2 separate regions of the Homo sapiens genome follow, and region 2 is linked to region 1. The links are contacts of gene promoters, found by promoter capture Hi-C in human tissues and cell types (Jung and others, 2019). All regions are on one chromosome and are shown on one strand. Each heading gives the region's core, a stretch centred on a gene start or on the middle of the fragment in contact. The rest is flanking DNA. Distances are from core to core; before and after follow the strand shown.

Region 1 (4,418 bases), core at 1-2,500:
ATCTGCAGTGATCTGCTTGCTGGCATGCTGCACCTAACAGACAGGAAGGAAGCCAACAGGGACAGTTATAACCATGGGGAAGGGAAAGAGAAGAGCTTATGCCATCTCGATCAATGCCCTTTAAGGTAGGCTCCCCTCTCTCAAATCTAGTCTTCGTATATCATACTGGCTGGACCCTCCCAACCCTCTGAGGCTGTCACAGGGGAAGAGGTGATCTGCACCAGTAGCATTAAGCCTCCACCCCTCTGAGTGGAGAGGGGGCATCCTCCAGCGGACCCGTGACCTTCAGACCTAGGAGAAAGGTCATTACCTCAAACCCAGGTTCAGAGGCATTAGGGCGAGTCCCACATAGGGCGCGGTCACCTTGGGGACCGCAGCCTACGCCTCAAGTCTCCTGAGCTGCTTCCGTCTCGCTCCGCCCCCACTCCGCTCCCAGAGGTGACCCGAGCGCCGCCGCCGCCAGCCCTACACGCTAGCCCAGGAGCGCCCTCTAGAGCCGGCACTGGAGAGCGCGCGGCGCAGGGAGGCAGGCGGAGACGCGGCGGCAGCGGCCGCGGCTGCGCGGGGGCGGACGTAAAAGGCACACGCGCTTCCCGGCGCCGGCTTCCGGCCCGGCGAGGTTTGAGCGCGTCCGCGGGCTGGGAGGCCGCTGGACCCGGGCGCATGGCCTCCCCCGGGCAGTTATCTCCTTGCCGCGACCTTGAGGTCTTCGGTAAGAACTGGCGTTCCTCTTTCTAACGCCGGCTTTCGGCCTTCGCCCTTGACGCCCAGGCCCGGGGAGGCCGTCACTCAGAAACTGCTCCATCCGAGTCCGCCGCCTCGGAGATGCCGAGAGCCTGGTCCTGCCCTCTGCCCCCGGCCCCTTCCTAGACTCACTACTTCAGGTCACTAAAGGCGCCTCCCACCAGTTTGACTTCTGTTCTGCCTCTGCGCCCCGCTCTGGCCTCTCCTAAGCCGCTTCCCTGGCCATGTCTTTAGAGTTCGCTCCCCGCCACCCCTCGGGCGCCCGCCTTCTGTGCGACCCTTCCCCCCACTTCCTGGTTGGGCTCCTGGATCCCAGGACGTACCTGCAGCAGCAGCTTGACCCGCTCGATGGGCGCTACCGCCGTCTTGGAGATGGCTGCGGCCACTCCACCTGCCAGGAAGTCCTTGGCGAAGGACACAGCGGCATCTGTCATGTTGAAAGAGGAGGCAGACTGCTGCAGGACGGGACTGGGCCGGGAACCGGCTTTGACTCCGGCGCTGCGGGGCGGAGCGAAGCAAATGGCCGATTTATATAGGGGGAGCCGGAGCTGGAGCGGCAGGCGTCGGAGGCGGGGCCGGGGCGGGGTCTGGGCCCCGGCGCGCTGGGCGGCAGAGCCGCTGAGTGGCCCAGCTCGCAGGAGGAGGAGTCGTGGAGGGCGGGCCGGGACTGCTCTCCGCGCCGCCCGTGCTCGCCCTCGGCACCTGACCCGGCGAGAGGAAGGGGCGGGTCCAGAGAACACCCGGGACTTGAACGCTGGACCCTGAGAGAGGCCTCGGAGAGGGGAGGAAGGGTGAGGTCACGATGTGCCTGGACAAAAACCCTTGGAGCAGGACCAGGACTAGGGTGAGACGCATTTGCTACAGGGATGCCAAAAGAACCCTTCAGTCATCGAGATAAACAGTAGTCAATGCGATACTTTAAAAAAGTCGTATGGGCAAACTACATCCTACTGGCCGGCCCCCTTGTTTTGTAAATAAAGTTTAATTGGAGTGTCAAGGCTGGGTTTAGGGTGAGGCAAGCGAGACAAGGTCATGCAAGTGCAGGTTGGGATCCTGTCTGTATTTCAAATGTTGATCATTTGTTCATCATGGATTTTTGCATTGCTTCTGATTTTTTTAAAATAGTACATGAAAAATCATTTGTCTTAATTACTGAGTTGTTTTTCACCAAGGTGAATGCCTCACTCTTCCCACTCTAGACCGTGTGCTGTCCTGGAGCCAGTGAAACCAGACGAAATTAAGGGAACAGCAGACGAAGGAACTGCCACCGTGCCCCAGACCCTGGTTTGCAAATACAGTTCGACAAAGATCTTGCCAGGAATTGGCCTGGGAGAGTCCAAAGGACTGGGCTGGGGGTGGGGAAATGATTTTAGCCAGAAGACAAATATAGAGGTTGTACCCAGAAGGTTAAGAGGCTTAGGAAGGTTAAGAACTACGTTAACATTTGGCTCCCAGGACCCCAGGTAAAGTGCCCTTGGATTGAATAGATTTCTGAACTCCAGAAACATTTAGAGGAATCAATAGAATTAGATTGGCAGCCATTGTGCCAATGGACAAGTGCTTACTGAGCCCCTTAATCCCTTCACTGGGTAAGCATTTGCCACACATGTCCTCAAAAACCTACTTGTTAGCTTAAGTGGACTCCCTCAAGTTCAGAACAGGAGCAAATAGTGTAATCACAAGTTCCGTGTCTGAATAATCATAACAATGTTTATAAAAATAAGGACGACTGTTGAAAACTGCAACTGCAGCTGAACCTTATGTGCCCAGACTTCAGAATTCCCATAGGCAAAATGCCAGCAGGCCTTTGCACACTGAACACATAGTGTTCATATCCTTCACTTTCCTTTCCTGCCCTCTCCTATCTTCTCCAGATCTGCCTGTGAAAGGACCCAATTCTAGGACCCCCCAGGATGGTTAGGCCCTTCCTCTGAAAGTACACTTTGCAATTTGTTAGTCTCCTCAAGAACCCCAGCGATCGAAACTGATGCACACAAATTGCATGTGTTCAAAGGAGCAATTTTGAATCTAGCTTTGTTGATCCTGGGAGAAATCTTTGACCTGTGTTAGTGAAAGGCTATGGTGTTTCTCAGCTGATTATAATAGCGAGGTAGCTGAATGCAAAAAAACAGTTTCAGAGAATGGTAGAGTATATCCTCCAAAGGTGATACTCGCTTCTCTATTCTGGTGAGAGAAACAAGAGCTAAAGCAAAATTCTACAGAGGGCTTTATTTGGAGAGAGGTGGATTTTATTTATAATGCATTTAAAATTCAAAATCTTTCTAGTTTGAACTCTTGACATTCTGATTAATGCATTTTTATTCAACTGTTAATTATTCCTCGATACACCTCGCCATCACTTGTGTATCCCTTTTCTACATGTGACCTTTCCCTGGCCACATCTGCTACTCTCTTTGAGCATGATGCCTCTACTGTATTCTATTCCAGAGCTCATTGTTTTGTCAGTTTTTTTTCTCTCCACAAAAAAAGATGATCAAATAATTACATAGAATTTTTCCCTTCTCAGTCTTTGGGTAACTAAGTGTGGTTTTATTGACGATGAAATACAAGATGGGTCATTTAAAAGCAACTTCTTGTCATCACTTGGTATTTTGCTAAATCCACGGTGAGCTGGAGCTCCCGTAGTCACCTATCACCGCGTGTATTTTAAGGAGTCAGATATTCTCGAAACTGTTAAGATCATGAAAGACAAAGAGACTAAGGAACTGTCACAGATTAAAGGAGACTAAAGATACTTGACAACTGAATGTAATATATGACACTCAACCGGCTCCTGTACCAGAAAAAGGACATTGGTTATATTGGTGAGGTTTGAATATCTGTAGATTACCAATACTATTCTTGGTTATGGTGGTTATGTAAGATTTAGAGAAGTTGAATAAAGGATATAAGGACATTTTTGTACTATTTTTGCAACATTTAAAAAAGTCTGAAAGTTTAAAAACTTTTTAAAAAAGAAGGAAAAAGAAACAAGGAGCAAGCATCCAGGAAAATAGAAAATAGAGTCTCATTCTGTCACCCAGGCTGGAGTGCAGCGGCACGATCATAGCTCACTGCAGCCTCAAACTCCTAGGCTCAAGTGATCCTCCCACCTTAGCCTTCCAAATTGCTGGGATTACAGGTATGAGCCACTGCACCCAGCCGAGAAGAATATTAATGATGATGATGATGATGATGATGATGATGTTGATAATGATATATGGCTGGTCAGTTAATCAAAACTAATTCCTCCATTGAGACATAGTGCTGTGTTAGTAATTATTGTGTTTCTGGAAGCTATGTAAAATATAAGTCTAATTAAGAGGAACTAAAGCTAAGGCAATGCCTAGTAATTCTCAAGGAAAAACAAGGAAGAGAGTCAGAAATGACACTTTTAAGGCCTCAGATATCTATGTACCAACACCCAGAATATGGGTAATAAAGGGAATGTAATTTTTTTTTTTTTGAGACAGAGTTTTGCTCTTGTCGCCCAGGCTGGAGTGCAATGGCGCGATCTCCGCTCACTGCAACCTCCACCTCCTAGGTTCAAGCGGTTCTTCAGCCTCAGCCTCCTGAGTAGCTGGGATTACAGGCACGCCACCACCACGCCTGGCTAATTTTTGTATTTTTAGTAGAGACAGGTTATTACCATGTTGGCCAGGCTGCTCTCAAAC
Region 2 (4,418 bases), core at 734-3,233, 130 kb before region 1:
GAATGTAGGTGCTTTTCTTGGTGGATTTTCTAAAATGCCTGGTGTTAAAGGTGTTACTTTAAAACACACTATTAAAAAATAGACTCTGGAGAAAGTGAATAATAAAAGCTTTACTGCCTTGGCTTACTTTAAATATGTGGCACCACTTCTTTATCTTTGGAAAGCTACTCTGGATTGTAGAAGCCTCGTGGTCTTACTAAACACTCTAGATTCGTATTTACATTGTTCTTTGAATAGTGAAGTGTTTGTTAGGTACTATACGGTCTTTTTCATTATTGTTCATACTGGCTGGGCTTCTTCAGTATTATGACTTCATAGCAAAGGACAGAGAACTGTATCAGCAACCTATGTAAAGACTTATTTTTATGGCCTATGGGTGAAGTTGAATTTTGTGGCAGATGTAATGAATAGGGTATAGTAAGTAGGTAGAATAATTACTAATGCTGGAAGAAACCTGAGAAAAGTGAGCATGAATGAGTGAGCCCTAAGTGCATCACACCGTAAGACATATATGCCATTTGCAGTTGTATACTGTACTTGGAATCGGGCTCTAACTGAAGGTCTGGAGAATATTGACTGGAATTCAAGGTAAGTTGCCTGGTTGTAGGGCCACTTTTGGTAACAGGCGTGGGATTAGTAGTTTAAGATTTATAGACTCATCTCATTTTCATAGACTTTTTTTTTTTTTTTTTTTTTTTTTGAGATGGAGTTTCACTCTTGTTGCCCAGGCTGGAAGGCAATGGTGCGATCTCGGCTCACTAAAACCTCTGCCTCCCAGGTTCAAGCGATTCTCCTGTCTCAGCCTCCCAAGTAGCTGGGATTACAGGCATGCGCCATCACACCCGGCTAATTTTTGTATTTTTAGTAGAGACAGGTTTCTCTATGTTGGTCAGGCTGGTCTCGAATTCCCGACCTCAGGTGATCTGCCTGCCTTGGCCTCCCAAAGTGTTGGGATTACAGGCGTGAGCCACACGCGCCCGGCTTTTGTTTTTATCTCATACTTTGGAAATATGTACTCCCAAATTTGAATGGAAGTGATATGTAGAATGTATTGTGTTTATTTTATTTTATTTTATTATTATTTTTGAGACAGAGTCTCGCTCTTGTCGTCCAGGCTGGAGTGCAGTGGTGCAATCTCAGCTCACTGCAACCTCCGCCTCCCGGGTTCAAGCAATTCTCCTGCCTCAGCCTCCTGAGTAGCTGGGATTACAGGCGCCTGCTACCACACCCAGCTAATTTTTGTATTTTTAGTAGAGACGGGGTTTTACCATGTTGGGTAAGCTGGTCTTGAACTCCTGACCTCAGGTGATCTGCCCACCTCAGCCTCCCAAAATGTTGGGATTACAGGTGTGAGCCACCCCGCCCAGCCATATTGTGTTTTAGACTGTGCTTTCTGATGTTCAGATAAGAGTCAATGAAAATAAAATTACTCTTGGTATTTAAATACTCGTGCTAGCTTTAGCAGCAACAGTTGTCAGTGGGAAGTACAGGTTACAACAGAGCTAGCTTCCAGCAGTCTGTCGGGGAGGCCACCGTGCCTTGACTTCTGCTTTGCGTGGAATGATACGTGATGGGTGTGCAACCTGTTCTACTGAAAATGGAAAATGTTACCCTCCTTCTGGTTCAGAACTGATTCATGTAAAGGTATGATAGTTACTCATTTTCAGAACTTCTTCCCAAATGCTACCAGGAATCTCTTTTTTGGTCCTAGGCTGGGGAAGGCTCTGAAGGTAGGAAGGGAGAGCAGGTAACCGTCATAACCAACACTTCACTTGAGCTCCTGTTTCTGTTTCTCTGTAGTAAAATGTTATTCTATCAAGCAGCCAATCTTCATAAGGAGCCTTTTTTTTTTTTTTTTTTAAGAGACCGTCTCAGCCGGGTGCAGTTGCTCACACCTGTAATCCTAGCACTTTGGGAGGCTGAGGCAGGTGGATTACCTGAGGTCAGGAGTTCAAGGTCAGCCTGGCCAACATGGCAAAACCCTGTCTCTACTAAAAAATACAAAAATTAGCCAGGCGTGGTGGCGCATGCCTGTAATCCCAGCTACTTGGGAGGCTGAGGCAGGAGAAGTGCTTGAACCCGGGAGGTGGAGGTTGCAGTGAGCTGATATTGTGCCACTGCACTCCAGCCTGGGAGACAGAGCAAGACTCCCTCTCAAAAAAAAAAAAAAAAAAAAAAAAGAGACAGGGTCTCACTCTGTCACCCAGGCTGGAGTGCAGTGGTGTGATCACAGCTCACTGCAGCCTTGACCTTCCCAGCTCAAGTGATCCTCCCACCTCAGCCTCCCAAGTAGCTGGGACTACAGGCATGGGTCACCATGCCTGGCTACGTTTTCTGTTTGTTTGTTATTTTTATTTTTTGTAATGATGGTGTTTCGCCATGTTGCCCAGGCTGGTCTTGAATTCCTGGCTTCAAGTGATCTGCCCACCTCCACCTCTCAATGTGCTGGGATTACAGGCATGAACCACTGTGCTCAGCCAGGAGCCATTTTTTAAATTGTATATTTTAAAGCTTTGCCTTAAAATTTCAAGCACACAAAAGTAGAAAAGAGTTTAATGAATCCCATGTACCCATCACTCAGCAATCATCAGCAGTCTGCCATGCTACCCTTCTTCATCTATTCTGCCCTAGGTTTTTGTGGGCAATAGTCTGGAGTATATTTTATAAAATCCTGACATCATTTCACCTGTACATTCTTCAGTACACATCTGTATCAGATAAGAATTTTTAAAAATAGTCACCATACCATTATTCATATTCAACAAAATTTACAGTGATTTCTTAAAAATCACCCAATGCCTATTGCATGTTCAGTTTTCTTCATTTGTCTCAAATGTCTTTTTACAGCTCGTTTGATTCATTCATGATACAAAGTCTATACAATGTATTTGATTGATCCATCTCCTTTAACCTATAACCACTCCCTCTTCCTTTTATTTTCATTCTACAGTATTTATTTGATGAGGAAACTGGGCTGTCACATACTGTTCCCTCATTCTGGAGTTGGATAGTTCCATTCTTGTGGTGTTTCACATGTTTCTGGGAGTCAGGAACTTGATTAGTTTCAGGTTCAATTCTCTGGAGAGCCATAACGCTTTCTAGATAGTGCCGTGATATCCTATTGTATCACATCGTGGGGTACATGTTCGGTTGTCCCACTTTTAGTGATATTAAGATGATAAAGTCCCCGATCAGCTTTTTAAACTGAAATTTTTCTTGAGATAATTATAGATTGACATGCAACTGTAAGAAATAATACAAAGAGATGGCCGGGTGCGGTGGCTCATGCCTGTAATCCCAGCACTTTGGAAGGCTGAGGCCTGCGGAGAGGTCAGGAATTTGACACCAGCCTGGTCAACATGATGACCTTGTCTTACTAAAAATACAAAAATTAGCCCCGCATGGTGGTGCATGCTTATAGTCCCAGCTACTTGGGAGACTGAGGCAGGAGAATCACTTGAATCCAGGAGGCGGAGGTTGCGGTGAGCCGAGATCGCGCCATTGCATTCCAGCATGGGTGACAGAGTGAGACTGTTTAAAAAAAAAAAAAAAGTTCCTTTTTGTCCCAAGTAGTGTTCCATAGTGTGTGTGTACCAGAATCTAACTATTCACCTGTTGAAGGACATCTGGGCTGATTGTAGTTTTGGGCTGTTACAAATAAAGCTGCTATGAACATTCGTGTACAGGTTTTTGTGTGAACATAAGTTCTCATTTCTCTGGAATAAATGTCCAAGAGTATAATTGCAATCGCTGGATCAAGTGGTAACTGATTTTTTTTTTTTTTTTTTGGAGGCAGTGTTTCATTCTTGTTGCCCAGGCTGGAGTGCAATCGTGCGATCTTGGCTCACTGCAACGTCCACCTCCTGGGTTCAAGCGATTCTCCTGCCTCAGCCTCCAGAGTAGCTGGGATTACAGGCATGCACCACCACGCCCGGCTAATTTTGTCTTTTTAGTAGAGACGAGGTTTCTCCATGTTGGTCAGGCTGGTCTCGAACTCCCGACCTCAGGTGATCCGCCCACCTTGGCCTCCCAAAGTGCTGGTATTACAAGCGTGAGCCACCGCACCCGGCCTGATGTTTGGTTTTATAAGAAACTACCAAACTGTTTTCCAGAGTGACTGTATCATTTTACATTCCCAGCAGCAATGTCTGAGTGATCCAGTTTCTCCTCATTTTTGCCAGCATTTGGTATTGTCACTTTTTTTTTTTTTTTTTTTTTTTTTTTTTTGAGATGGAGTCTTGCTCTGTCACTCAGGCTGAAGTGCAGTGGCACAATCTCGGCTCACTGCAACCTCTGCCTCCCAGGTTCAAGCGATTCTCCTGCCTCAGCCTCCTGAGAAGCTGGGATTACAGGCGCATGCCACCATGCCAGGCTAATCTTTGTATTTTTAGTAGAGACAGGGTTTCACCATGTTGGTC

The links. Contacts are between HindIII fragments. The study calls those that stand out against the background at their distance.
Region 2: a fragment that was not itself captured here is called in contact with the fragment with the promoter of SLC25A5 in region 1 in 1 of the 25 tissues and cell types used here (pancreas).

The regions. Positions count from the first base shown.
Region 1 is chrX:119,465,276-119,469,693 of GRCh38, reverse strand. SLC25A5 (solute carrier family 25 member 5) reads right to left here and starts at 1,250. Exons shown (of 4, transcript NM_001152.5): 1 at 1,068-1,250; 2 at 1-33. The coding sequence starts at 1,178. It overlaps SLC25A5-AS1 (SLC25A5 antisense RNA 1), which reads left to right and starts at 574. Exons shown (of 1, transcript NR_028443.1): 1 at 574-3,661. RefSeq lists silencers at 461-700, 1,191-1,570. The HindIII fragment of the contact is 17,197 bases long and covers 1-4,418 here.
Region 2 is chrX:119,594,750-119,599,167 of GRCh38, reverse strand. The region is part of intron 2 of NKRF (NFKB repressing factor); the gene reads left to right. Among named protein-coding and RNA genes, the nearest start is that of NKRF, 9.5 kb to the left of the region's middle. The HindIII fragment of the contact is 5,142 bases long and covers 1-4,418 here.